4 separate regions of the Homo sapiens genome follow, and regions 1, 3 and 4 are each linked to region 2. Evidence: promoter capture Hi-C in 16 types of primary human blood cells and fetal thymus (Javierre and others, 2016). All regions are on one chromosome and are shown on one strand. The core of a region is centred on a gene start or on the middle of the fragment in contact, and the rest is flanking DNA. Distances in the headings are between cores, read along the strand shown.

What was found. Contacts are between HindIII fragments. The CHiCAGO score rates a contact against its expected background, and 5 or more counts as called.
Region 1: a contact is called between a fragment that was not itself captured here and the fragment with the promoter of FOXRED2 in region 2, in 1 of 17 cell types (activated CD4 T cells). The highest score is 5.2, in activated CD4 T cells.
Region 3: a contact is called between a fragment that was not itself captured here and the fragment with the promoter of FOXRED2 in region 2, in 10 of 17 cell types (neutrophils, naive B cells, naive CD4 T cells and 7 more). The highest score is 9.7, in neutrophils.
Region 4: a fragment that was not itself captured here is called in contact with the fragment with the promoter of FOXRED2 in region 2 in 1 of 17 cell types (neutrophils); the score reaches 6.5 in neutrophils.

What each region holds. Positions count from the first base shown.
Region 1 is chr22:36,279,386-36,282,085 of GRCh38, forward strand. MYH9 (myosin heavy chain 9) reads right to left here. Exons shown (of 41, transcript NM_002473.6): 41 at 1,895-2,700. Among named protein-coding and RNA genes, the nearest start is that of MIR6819, 6.2 kb to the right of the region's middle. The HindIII fragment of the contact is 4,455 bases long and covers 1-2,700 here.
Region 2 is chr22:36,505,740-36,508,439 of GRCh38, forward strand. It overlaps FOXRED2 (FAD dependent oxidoreductase domain containing 2), which reads right to left and starts at 1,301. Exons shown (of 9, transcript NM_001102371.2): 1 at 1,270-1,301; 2 at 157-684. The coding sequence starts at 683. RefSeq lists a silencer at 1,048-1,547. The HindIII fragment of the contact is 16,870 bases long and covers 1-2,700 here.
Region 3 is chr22:36,298,607-36,301,306 of GRCh38, forward strand. MYH9 (myosin heavy chain 9) reads right to left here. Exons shown (of 41, transcript NM_002473.6): 22 at 2,245-2,451; 23 at 1,521-1,658; 24 at 313-436. Among named protein-coding and RNA genes, the nearest start is that of MIR6819, 13 kb to the left of the region's middle. RefSeq lists an enhancer at 1,350-2,549. The HindIII fragment of the contact is 2,583 bases long and covers 8-2,590 here.
Region 4 is chr22:36,261,583-36,264,282 of GRCh38, forward strand. APOL1 (apolipoprotein L1) reads left to right here. Exons shown (of 6, transcript NM_003661.4): 5 at 14-140. Among named protein-coding and RNA genes, the nearest start is that of APOL1, 9.8 kb to the left of the region's middle. The HindIII fragment of the contact is 1,490 bases long and covers 526-2,015 here.

The sequences.
Region 1 (2,700 bases), core at 115-2,614, 230 kb before region 2:
ATTCTGCTAAGTGAAATAAGCCCGTCACAAAAGGACACATGCTGTATGATTCCGTTCATGTGAGGTTCTTACGGTGGTCAAATTTATAAAGATAAGGAGCAGAGTGTTGGTTGTCAAGGGCTGGGGGAGGGAGAATGAGCAGTTCATGTTTACTGGGTACAAAGTGTCAGTTTTGCAAGAGAAGAGTTCTGTGGATGATGGTGGTTGTGCAACAATGTGAATGTAATTCCACGAAACTGTTCACCTAAAAATGGTTAAAAAGGCAATTTTAGGTTATGAATATCTTACAGTTAAAATCTTTAATTAAAGTCCTTTCAAAGCCCAACCTTTGCAGAAAAAAAATTATAGCACCTGAGCCCTTTTTGGTTTGCAGAACATTTTCACACACATAGTCATACATGCTTCAACGACGGCCCTGTGATAAAAACATTTATTAATTTGGCTTCCCAGAGGAGAAAACTAAGGTTCAAATGGGGTGAAACGGCCAGGTGTGGTGGCTCATGCCTGTAATCCCAGCATTTTGGGAAGCCGAGGCAGGTGGATCTCCTGAGGTCAGGAGTTCGAGACCACCCTGGCCAACATGGCAAAACCCCATCTCAACTAAAAATACAAAAATTAGCCAGGTGTGGTAGTGCACGCCTGTAGTCTCAGCTACTCAGAAGGCTGAGGCACGAGAATCACTTGAACCTGGGAGGCACAGGTTGCAGTGAGTCAAGATCGCTCCACTGCTCTCCAGCCTGGGTGACAGGGACTCTGTCTCAGAAAAAAAAAAAAAAAAATCCAGGTGTGGTGGCTCACGCCTGTAATCCCAACACTTTGGAGGTCAGGAGTTTCAGATCAGCCTGACCAACATGGTGAAACCCTGTCTCTACTAAAAATACAAAAAAATTAGTCAGGCATGGTGGCGGGCACCTGTAATCCCAGCTACTCGGGAGGCTGAGACAGAAGAATAGCTTGAACCTGGGAGGCGGAGGTTGCAGTGAGCTGAGATTGAGCCACTGCATTCCGGCCTGGGTGACAGAGTGAGACTCCATCTCAGGGAAAAAAAAAAAAAAAAGATTCTGACAAAATGCCATGAAGATCGTTTGTAGATCTTGTCTTGCTAAAGTGGAGTTGGATTCAGAGGGTTGGGGGCGGGGTCTGAAATAGTTTCTAAGCAGTTCTCACGTGGAGCCAACGCTTCTGGTGCAAGGACCGCCATCCAGCAGCAAAGATCCAGTGTACTTTACTTAACAGACAAGGAAGCTAGCCGGGAAGGGAGTGACTTGCCCAGGGTGACAGGGCAGGGTGGCACATAGGAAGCTAAGGGCCAGGGAATGTGCATGCAGCTGTTTTGCCAAAAATCGGTCACCTTCTTAAGCTGACCCAGATAGTGTCCACTTTTTTAAATTTTTTTATTTATTTATTTTGAGACAGAGTCTCACTCTCGCCCAGGCTAGAGTGCAGTGGCACAATCTTAGCTCACTGCAACCTCTGCCTCCCGGGTTCAAGCGATTCTCCTGCCTCAGCCTCCTGAGTAGCTGGGATTACAGGCACACACCACCACGCCCGGCTAATTTTTTTTGTATTTTTAGTAGAGATGTTGGCCAGGCTGGTCTTGAACTCCTGACCTCAGGTGATCCCCCTGCCTCAGCCTCCCAAAGTGCTGGGATTACAGGCGTGAGCCACCGTGCTCGGCCTTGAACCAAGGTTTCTAAGATGCTCTTAGCCTCCTTGGATCTGGCCTAGCCCACCTTTCCATCTTAGCTTTTCTGCACAACCGCCCACAGCTAGCTCAGCCTACGCCTCAGCCAATCTGGTTCCCGACGATGCAGAGCCGGCATTGGCTGCAGAAGCCAGGCCTAGTCCTGTCCAGGGCCCCCTGGCCGCAGACAAATGCTACAGACACGGCTCGTAGCACATGGTTCTCTTTATTGTGATGCTCAGTGGAAAACATCTGTAAACCAGCTTACTGTAGTGGTGACAGCTGCAACACATGCTAAGGCACTTTTATTATATAAAAAAGGGGGTAGGGTGGGAGTTTCACTCACTCCTTTGTGACAGCAACTGGGACCTGAATTCAGAGCTTTGTAGGCATATGCAGCTTTTATATCACTTCATGATTTGAGAGTTTGTTTCCTTTAAAAAAAAAAAATGCCTTCTTGCCGTAAGTCTCAATGCAGCATATACAAAACAGTTAGGAATACAAGTAAATTCGGCAACCAGTGTAGACCAGTGAGGACGAGCTACTCTCTTCTAAACAAAGGCAGTGAGAAAGACTCGGAATTTTATCATTTATTACAAGAAAGGGGAAAAAAGAAAACCTTATTTTGCTTTCAAAAATACCTGTGCAGGTGGCAGATTTTTAAACTATACTGAGTCAACGGTGCAGGTAAACCACCCTCGGGCCCAGTCCTAGAGTAGACACAAGATCGCCTGGGAGGGCCGCTGGCCCCTCTAACGCTCTGGCTGTCAGACTTGGGACAAGTCCCTTAACCATTAAATATATTTGGTCCCCAAGAGTGTTGGGAGAAGCCACTGGAAGGCTGCTGGCCTTTCCAGCTTGACCCCGACAGCCTTGCTGTGGCAGAGGCAGGCTGTCCTCGGTAAAGGAGGGGAGGGGGCATTGCACTTGAGACATTTTAGAATCAGGAGGGAGACAGCGGACAGTGGCGCTGCCTGGGACAGGGTGGGGAGGAATCCACTCCTCCCCCCACCCCA
Region 2 (2,700 bases), core at 51-2,550:
CAGCCTGGGCGACAGAGTGAGACTCCGTCTTAAAAAAAAAAAAAAGCGAAATACCCTTTTTCGTCCATTCCTCCCATACCTACTGGCCAATCAAGGTGTGTGGTTCGTGTGGGGAAGGTCCCAGCTTCCGCAGGTGAGCTCTGGCACCGGCCTTACCTGCACTGATGCACCTGGCCCTTCTGGTCAGTTAGGATGAAGTAGTGGCCATTCCAGGCCTGTCGGTCCTTGTCCAGAGTGACGTGGGCGATGGTGGTGTTGTACTGGACACGGAGCCCCAGCGTGTCCGCGAAGTCACCCAGGTAGCGCACCATGTCGCGGGCGTCGGGGAAGTAGGCACGCGAGTAGTGTCTGAAGAGCAGCCGGGGGTCGTGGCTGAGCAGAGAGTTCCAGTCGTGGCGGAGGTTGAACTCGGCGTTAGCCTTGCCCGTGTACCGCTTGTTGATGCTGATGAGCTTGCGGTGCCGCGGGTAGCGTGTGAAGAAGCTGCCGGGCCGCGGGGCCCGCTCGAACACTGCGTAGTCGCGTCCAGCGCGCTGCAGGAAGTAGGCCATCTGCAGGCCCGCGGGCCCAGCGCCCAGCACGCAGTAGTCCCGGCGCGGGGGCACCGACAGCGCTGGGTGCAGGGCGATGGCCAGGAGCAGCCCCGGGGGACCCCACAACGGGGCCGCAGCGGAGAGGCCCATCCTGCAGCAGATCAGAGGGGTAAGGCCTCGCACCCGGCCCGGCGGCTGGGAGACACGAGGCCCAGAAAGAGGCGGGGCCTGCGGGAACTCTCACTGCAATCTGGGTCACGGCCAGGCCCAGAAGCCGTCCTCAGAGCTCATTTGCCCGGACTCCACCGTTTCAAGCTGGGACTTGGGGCTCCCCGGAATCCCGAGCCCCTCCATCTTATCTCCCTCAGGGTCTCCTTCCTCAGGGGCACCGGCTCCCCGCTTATGATTGTAGTAACCTCCACCCTGGGGAAGGAGAGCGTACTCCCCAATTTTCCCCTAATTTGAGGGTGCCCAACACCCCTTTGAACCACCCTCCAGGTTGGACCTTCCAGAGGCCTTGGCCCCTCTCCAGCGACCGGGTGGGAGCCTGAAGTGGGTGTGGCCTGCGTGCGCCCCGCCCCCTGCCAGGGTCCGCGCGCCCCAGGCTCTTCGGCCACGTGACAGGGATGCCGCGCACACCTGCCGCCCGCCCGCGTGCGCTTCAGGAGCCGCCAGGTCCCTACGCCCGCAGCTCCGGCCTCCCCGCCTCCGACCGAACCCTGAGAAACGCGCGAACCTCCCAGCCGCTCCGGCTGCAACCCGTGGTCTAATGAGGCCGCGCTTGGCTCGCTTGCTCCGCGGCGGCTCCGCCCCTCGCGCCCGGACCAATGGCAGGGGGCGGGGTCACGTGCGCGGCGCGCGGCACGCCGGGACCAGCTGGCAGGCTGCCTGCTCCGGCCCAGCGCGGGAGAGGCGCGCGCGTGCTGCGTTCGCTGCTCCGGGGGCTGGTAGAGGGGCCTGGGGCTAGCGCGCACCCGCGAGGGTGGAAGGTCTGGAGATCCGGGATGGGGAACTGGGTCCTTCGTTTTAAAAGGTGCCTCTCTACACGGAGGGAGGGGAGCACGTGATTTTTGGAGCTAATCCTAGCTCTCATATTCCATGAATGTAGCCAAACGCTAAAACTAGTTGGCCTACCCAGTTTTGTGGGACTGGAAACCAGCGTGGTGGAGCCAGGACCGATAAGCCAATTAACAAGCGTTTGCTACAGTGACTCAGTGTACTGCTTACCAAGTAACATACACGACTGTCCTAATCTTCCACCAAATAGGAGAGGTGGGCAAGGCATTGTTTCCGACATTTGGTAGCTGACTGGTCAAATGGAGACATAGGGATGAAGGGATATGTTTACAATCACAGGAAGTGGAGCCTGGAATTAAAACTCAGTGGAGGCAAGATAAATGGCAGGAGGAAGATAACGTGAACTGGATGATGAAGGTTGGCTTCCCAGGGGTGGCAAGTGGCCCCTGCATGAGATTTACATGGGGAGAAATACGAAGTCAGTGTAGGAACCTTCAAAGTCCAGTGAAATGGGGCTGAGTGTTCTTGGGGGAAGGGCAGGTGGAAAGAACTGCGAGCCTGCAGATTTGCATGGCTGGAGATTCTTTGAATTAAAAATCGTAGCTGGGGACTCCTTAGAAAAATTTTCCTGACCTCTCAGGCCTACAAGTACCTACCAAAGAATGTCATTTACTTTTTCTTTTTTTTTTTTTTTTGAGATGGAGTCTCACTCTGTCGCCCAGGCTGGAGTGCAGTGGCGTGATCTCGGCTCACTGCAAGCTCCACCTCCCAGGTTCACGCCATTTTTCTGCCCCAGCCTCCCTAGTAGCTGGGACTACAGGTGCCCGCCACCACACCCGGCTAATTTTTTGTATTTTTAGTAGAGACAGGGTTTCACTGTGTTAGCCAGGATGGTCTCGATCTCCTGACCTCGTGATCCGCCCGCCTCGGCCTCCCAAAGTGCTGGGATTACAGGCGTGAGCCACCGCGCCTGGCCGAATGTCATTTACTTTCTTCAGTCTGTGTCAACATCAGAGAAAAGCTCCCTCAGAGCAGAAATTGTCCAGTATCTGACATACGGAAGTTTAAGCATTTGTTGAATAAGCATTGCAACCAGAGAGGTCAGGCAGAATACTTTGCCAAAAATAAAGTAGGGATGTCTTATTTCTTC
Region 3 (2,700 bases), core at 49-2,548, 210 kb before region 2:
TCTCAGAAGCTTCCAAAACCCACGGCACACAACAGAGCAATGCCAAAGCTCTCTAAACACGCTTCATGCAGTGGGGGCATCTAGCCACAGAGCAACAGGGGCCTGGAGGCTCAGGTTCCCGCAGGCACCAGACACGGCTCCCCTCGACCTGGTGACCTCAGGTCTAAAGGGCAGCAGCCAGTGCTGTAGTGTGACCCAGGCTCACCCGTGAGCTGAGAAGGCCTCGGTGTTCCGGTCAGACAGGCCGGCCCCTGACCGCCAGCCCTTGCCCGCCAGCCCCTGCCCATCACCTCCTGCTCGTCACCCCCTCACCTTCCAAGTCAGTGATCATTGCCTCATGCTTGTTCTTGAGCTTGGCGAGGCTCTTAGATTTCTCCTCCTCTTCTGTGAGGTTGGTGGTGAACTCAGCTATTCTGTCTTCCAGCAGTTTCTTTTCCTGGGGAGAGGGGAGTAGGCTGGCATTTAGTGTTGGTTGAGCACAGAACACTTGCTAGCCTCAAAGCATGACTCGCCCGGAAATCTGGGGCTGAATGGAGAGGGCTTTAGACGCTTGATCAAGTTCATTAGGATTTTCCTAGATCAAAGGATAATTTTGAAAGGTCACGAGCTCCCCTGAAACAGCGAGGTACGCTTCCTTAGAACCAAAAAATGTGGGTGCCCAAGCCCTTCCCCTTCCCCTGTGGGCTTGGGTGAGAAAGGATTCCAGGTGACAGCTAGTGTCAGCAGGGACAGATGGCTCCACTCCTTCAAGAGGCTGCCACACGGCGCTCACCTGCGCCACCAGGCCACCTTCTCCGTGCCCCTCTCTCACCTGCCAGGTGGGCCACGGCCCCTCCCCCTCTTCAGCCCCGCGGTGCCCCGGGCTGCTCTCCTTGCTTTCTGTTCTGTGTGGCCCCTGCAACACCCCTGCCCAGCGGCCACAGCTCGGCACAAGCACCTGAGTCCCCTCATCCCAGTCCCGGGTGGGCGTCCTGCCACCTCAGCCTCCCCAGCCTTTGGGGCTCCCATGTTCTGAGGAGGCCCGAAAGGTGGGGAGGCTGCCTTCTCCTGCCTTCTCCTCTAACTGGTTCCCCGGCTGCTATCTGCTCCCTGGGCAGACACCGACAGGGACCCAACTCATTCTCAAGAGGAATAGCTGCCGCCCAGGGACAGTGGAGGAAGAGTACCCCGTATCTCAACACAGAGCCACCAAGGTGTCCCCAACCCCACAGTGACCAACACTTGCAATGCTGCACAGATGGCCACCTTTACACAGGCTCGGGTCTCACGGCTGGCAAAGAAGAGCTTTCCAGAGGGGAAAGGACAAACCCTTCCCCAGGGCCCCTTTGCTTATGAGGAAATCCCTCAACTAAGGCCCATGGGACCTCCAGGGAGCACTTGCAGTTAAGCAGAAGCCCTCATGCTGCAGGCAGAAGAGACAGGAAGCAGCAGCAGCGGGGAGCCAGGCCCTGCAAGGGTGACCACACTCTCCCATCCACGGCGCCCCTGGAGCAGCGGCAGGCGACAGCCACGGGCCTCACCTTGGCCAGCTTGCAGTTCTGGTCCTCCAGGATGATCTGCTCCTCCTCCAGCTTTTTCAGCTTCGCCTCGGTGGTCACCTTCTCCAGCTGCAGCTTCTGCCGGGCGCTCTCCTCCTCCTCCAGCTGCTCCTCAAGCTCCTGCCGGGGGCCAGAGACACGGTAAGGACAGCAGGCCCAGAGGCATGGCCAAGGTGAAGGCAGCAAGGTCCGAAGGCCAGATCCAAACGCCAAGGAGAAAATAGCAAGGTCTGTGAGCCCAGGGCCATGGCTGAGGTGGGGACGGCAAGGTCCGCCAGCCCAGGGCCACAGCCGAGGCAGGGCCCAAGCCCCATTTGTAGGATTCCAGATTTCAAACTGGGACACAGGGCCAGAACATCGGTGCAATGTTCTGAAGGGTTTCCTGCAGCAAGCTCCCACCCATGAAACAGGCAGGACGCAGAGGTGCTGGCCCTGTGCCCCTTCGGCTAGCCAGGGCCAGGGCTAATGGCAGGGAAATCAAATTGGCCTTGATGCTGGCCCAGGCAGTGCTCATGGAGATCTCAGATGCACATGTCACAAACTACCAGCCCAAAGGGAACACCTCTCACTGAGAGCCCCAAGCAGATTGCGTGAGGAGCAGCCTCCTTGGACCCTAATTCCATGTTCTCCCAGCTCCTGGTTCCTGCTCCTCCGCCCCGCCCTGCCCCTCCGGCGCCACCCCTCCCCGGGTGCAGCGGGCAGGAACCTGGATGTTCTGCTGCATCTTCTTCTTCTCCGCCTGCAGGTGCTGGCAGCGCTCCTCCTCCTCCTCCACCCTGGCCTCTAGGTCATGGCAGATCTCTTCTAATTCCTGCTTCTTGGCGGTCAGGCGGGCCCGGAGCTCCTCAGCCTCGGCACACAGCTCGGTTTCTGCCTGGAGCTGCTCCTGCAGCTGCAATTTCTCTGCCATGAGCTGCAAACAACAAGTGGAAAACACAAGCTCCTCGCAACACCCTCAAGCCACTCCATCCTCAAGGACGGACGCCATGGCTCGGGATCCCAGAGGGAAAGGAACATGCAGACAAAAGTAGCTTTCATCTGGAGAGCTCTGAAGCTTCCAGGTACCTTCCAGACATCGTGTCCTTGATTTTTCACTACCCCATGAGCTCCAGAGCAAGGTCCCAGGAAATGGGCTCAAGTCATGTGGTAGAGCTGAGGTTTG
Region 4 (2,700 bases), core at 21-2,520, 240 kb before region 2:
TCTTTCCAACTAGAGAGCAGTATCTTTATTGAGGATGCCATTAAGTATTTCAAGGAAAAAGTGAGCACACAGAATCTGCTACTCCTGCTGACTGATAATGAGGCCTGGAACGGATTCGTGGCTGCTGCTGAACTGCCCAGGTAAGCTCCATGGGGTTACCTCCATTGGGCACTCCGGCGATGCCACCCAGCTCTCCCCTGGGCTAGTTTTCCCTGACAGGCACACCTCCTCCAGGCAGCCCCCTCTGCTGGGCTTGAGGATGACCTTCTTGGCACTCCAGGAAGAATATTTCCTCCATGTCCTTCGCTGGCAGTGAGTAGCCTCAGGCTGAGGGGATAGGAAGCCCACAGGAACAGGGTCATTTCTGCCATCTGCTGGTGATGGGAACTTTGCCAGTTACTTTCTCACTTTCAGCCTTTCTTCATCAATGGAGTTTTATTGTGAGAAAAATGAGATCGTGCATGTAAAGTGCTTAGCATAATGACTGACACACAGTAGGTGCACAGTTAACGTTAACATCTTACAAGCTTGGTGGAAACAGAACCAGGGTTAAGGATCTTCTTCTTGAAGATGGGAGCCCAGCAGGACTTGACCTTTGGGACAAGTCAGAAAAATCCTGACCTAACCAATGTGTGTTCCTGGGGATGCTGGCTGGAGCCCTTTTTCTCATCTGAGGAATTCCATAAACACGGCAGGACCCTTCTGCTGGTCCAGGATGCCGAGAGGCTGGAGTGGAGTTGCACAGCGCTGGGTCTCTTTCCAGCTCTGTCTGTGTCCAGTCCCTGGGCTCTGGGCTTATGTCAGAGACTGGAAACTGTCATCAGTCTAATAGGAATAGCAACTCAATGTGATAGGAGTGTGGTGAAGGCCTTAGAGGCAACTCCAGGTCAAAGGTGGGGAACCAACACCAAGATCCTGCCCAAAGGCCCAGAGAGACCGGGATCAGCGTCAGAGCCTGGAGTCAGGATGGAGCAAGAGTCAGCCTTGGTTGTAGGACAAGCAGGAAGGCTGGGGCACCAGGGCTGGGACTAGGGTGTGGAAAGAGAGGCACCAAGGGCTTGAAACTTAAGGAGGTCATGAACTTGCAGAGGACATGTGAGTGGGAGAGGGATATTTCTTCCCTGTCTGGATGATCCCAACACTCATGGGCATATAGGGTCATGGTTGCCTGTGTCTCTCACACCACGCCTTGGAACTGGCAAGTTCTGGGCTACCCTTTGAGACCTTCTTCTCTTCTACACAGAGAAACCCCTGACATTGACAAGCAGTATGTCTTAGTGACCATTTTCATAGTAGAATTAGTTGCTGCCAATTTGTGTAATTTCAGGGATACTGAGCAGACTCACAACTTCCCAACCAAGGAGGAAAACACTTCCTCTACCATCTTGTCCAAATTCAGGTCTTTTCAGCATTAGCAATTTATATAGGTGGTTCTGAAAGTGTTTTGAATCTTCTAGAGGTTCCATAAAATTGCAAATGGCCTTGGTGTGCACACAGGTGAAGCTGTCACTACTAAGGCATCAGTTAGGCTGGTGACACCTGCGAGTGAGACCTGGAAGGTTGGGGGTGCAGGTGGTAGGTCAGGAGGCAGTAAGGTGGCTGGAGCGTCCATGTGGAGCCAGAATGAATAGCCAGATCTCCCACTCCAGTCAGCTGGGGCAGTGGCCAGAACCAGTAGCCTTCAGCCAGGTGAAAGGGCATGAGGCATTGGAAGGGAGCAGATGCCAGGCAAAGTGAACTCCTGTCTCTCCGGGGTTTTGTTTTTGTTTGAATTCAAAGTACTCAGAGATAGCCAGACTGCAATGTCTGAGGGCACCCTTACCTTTGACACCACCTGCAAATTTAAGGGGATTTCTAAATCCATCCTTTGATTTTGTAATTCACTGGAAGGACTCACATAACTCACTGAAAACTGCTATTTCACAATTGTGGTTGATCACACGGAAAGAACACAGATTAAAATCAGCCTAAGAAAGAGACACACGGGGCAGAGTTTGGGAGGGTTTTAAGTGTGAAGCTTCATTGTCCTCAGGACGCTGTGTTCTCCTGTGTGAATGTGGGACAAAACACATGCGGTGTTGCCAACCAGGGAAGCTCACCCAGTTAAGGAAAAATTCCTGTGAATCACATTAAACCAGAAATGAAGCCTTTTTTCAGGATTGTTGTTACAGGGGAGGGAGACTGAGCCCAGCTCCAAATATAGTAAAGACAGAGGGGGAGTCACAGCCAACACCAGGGTGGGGGCGGGAGATGGAACAGGACTGATAGGAGACACCAGAGTGGGGGGTTCCTGCTAAATTGGCCTAACAGGATTCTCACTAAAGGCAGGTCAGACACTCACCCATCAATGGTGGGGGTGAAGAGCATAATCAGATAGCAAAGCGTAATCAGACAGCAAGGGGGGAAGACCCTCCCTAAACTGACTTGGGGAGATTCTTGCTGAGCTGGGTGGTGCAGGTCCAGCAAGCAGTGGGTGGCTGTGGAAGGCCAAGGTCGGCGCCTAGTGGAGAAGAGGCTCAGAAGAGCCCAGCTGGAGTTGGTCAAGGAGAAAGTCCTTCTTTCTCAACCCATGCCTTAGTGTCCAGAGTATCTGCTGGGGCTGGATCACAAGCTGCCCTCATGGCTGACCTGGAGTCTCCAGCCCCTCCCTGAGGTCTAACCCCTTTAGTCCCCGGGTCCTCTGGGATCAGGAAAGACACC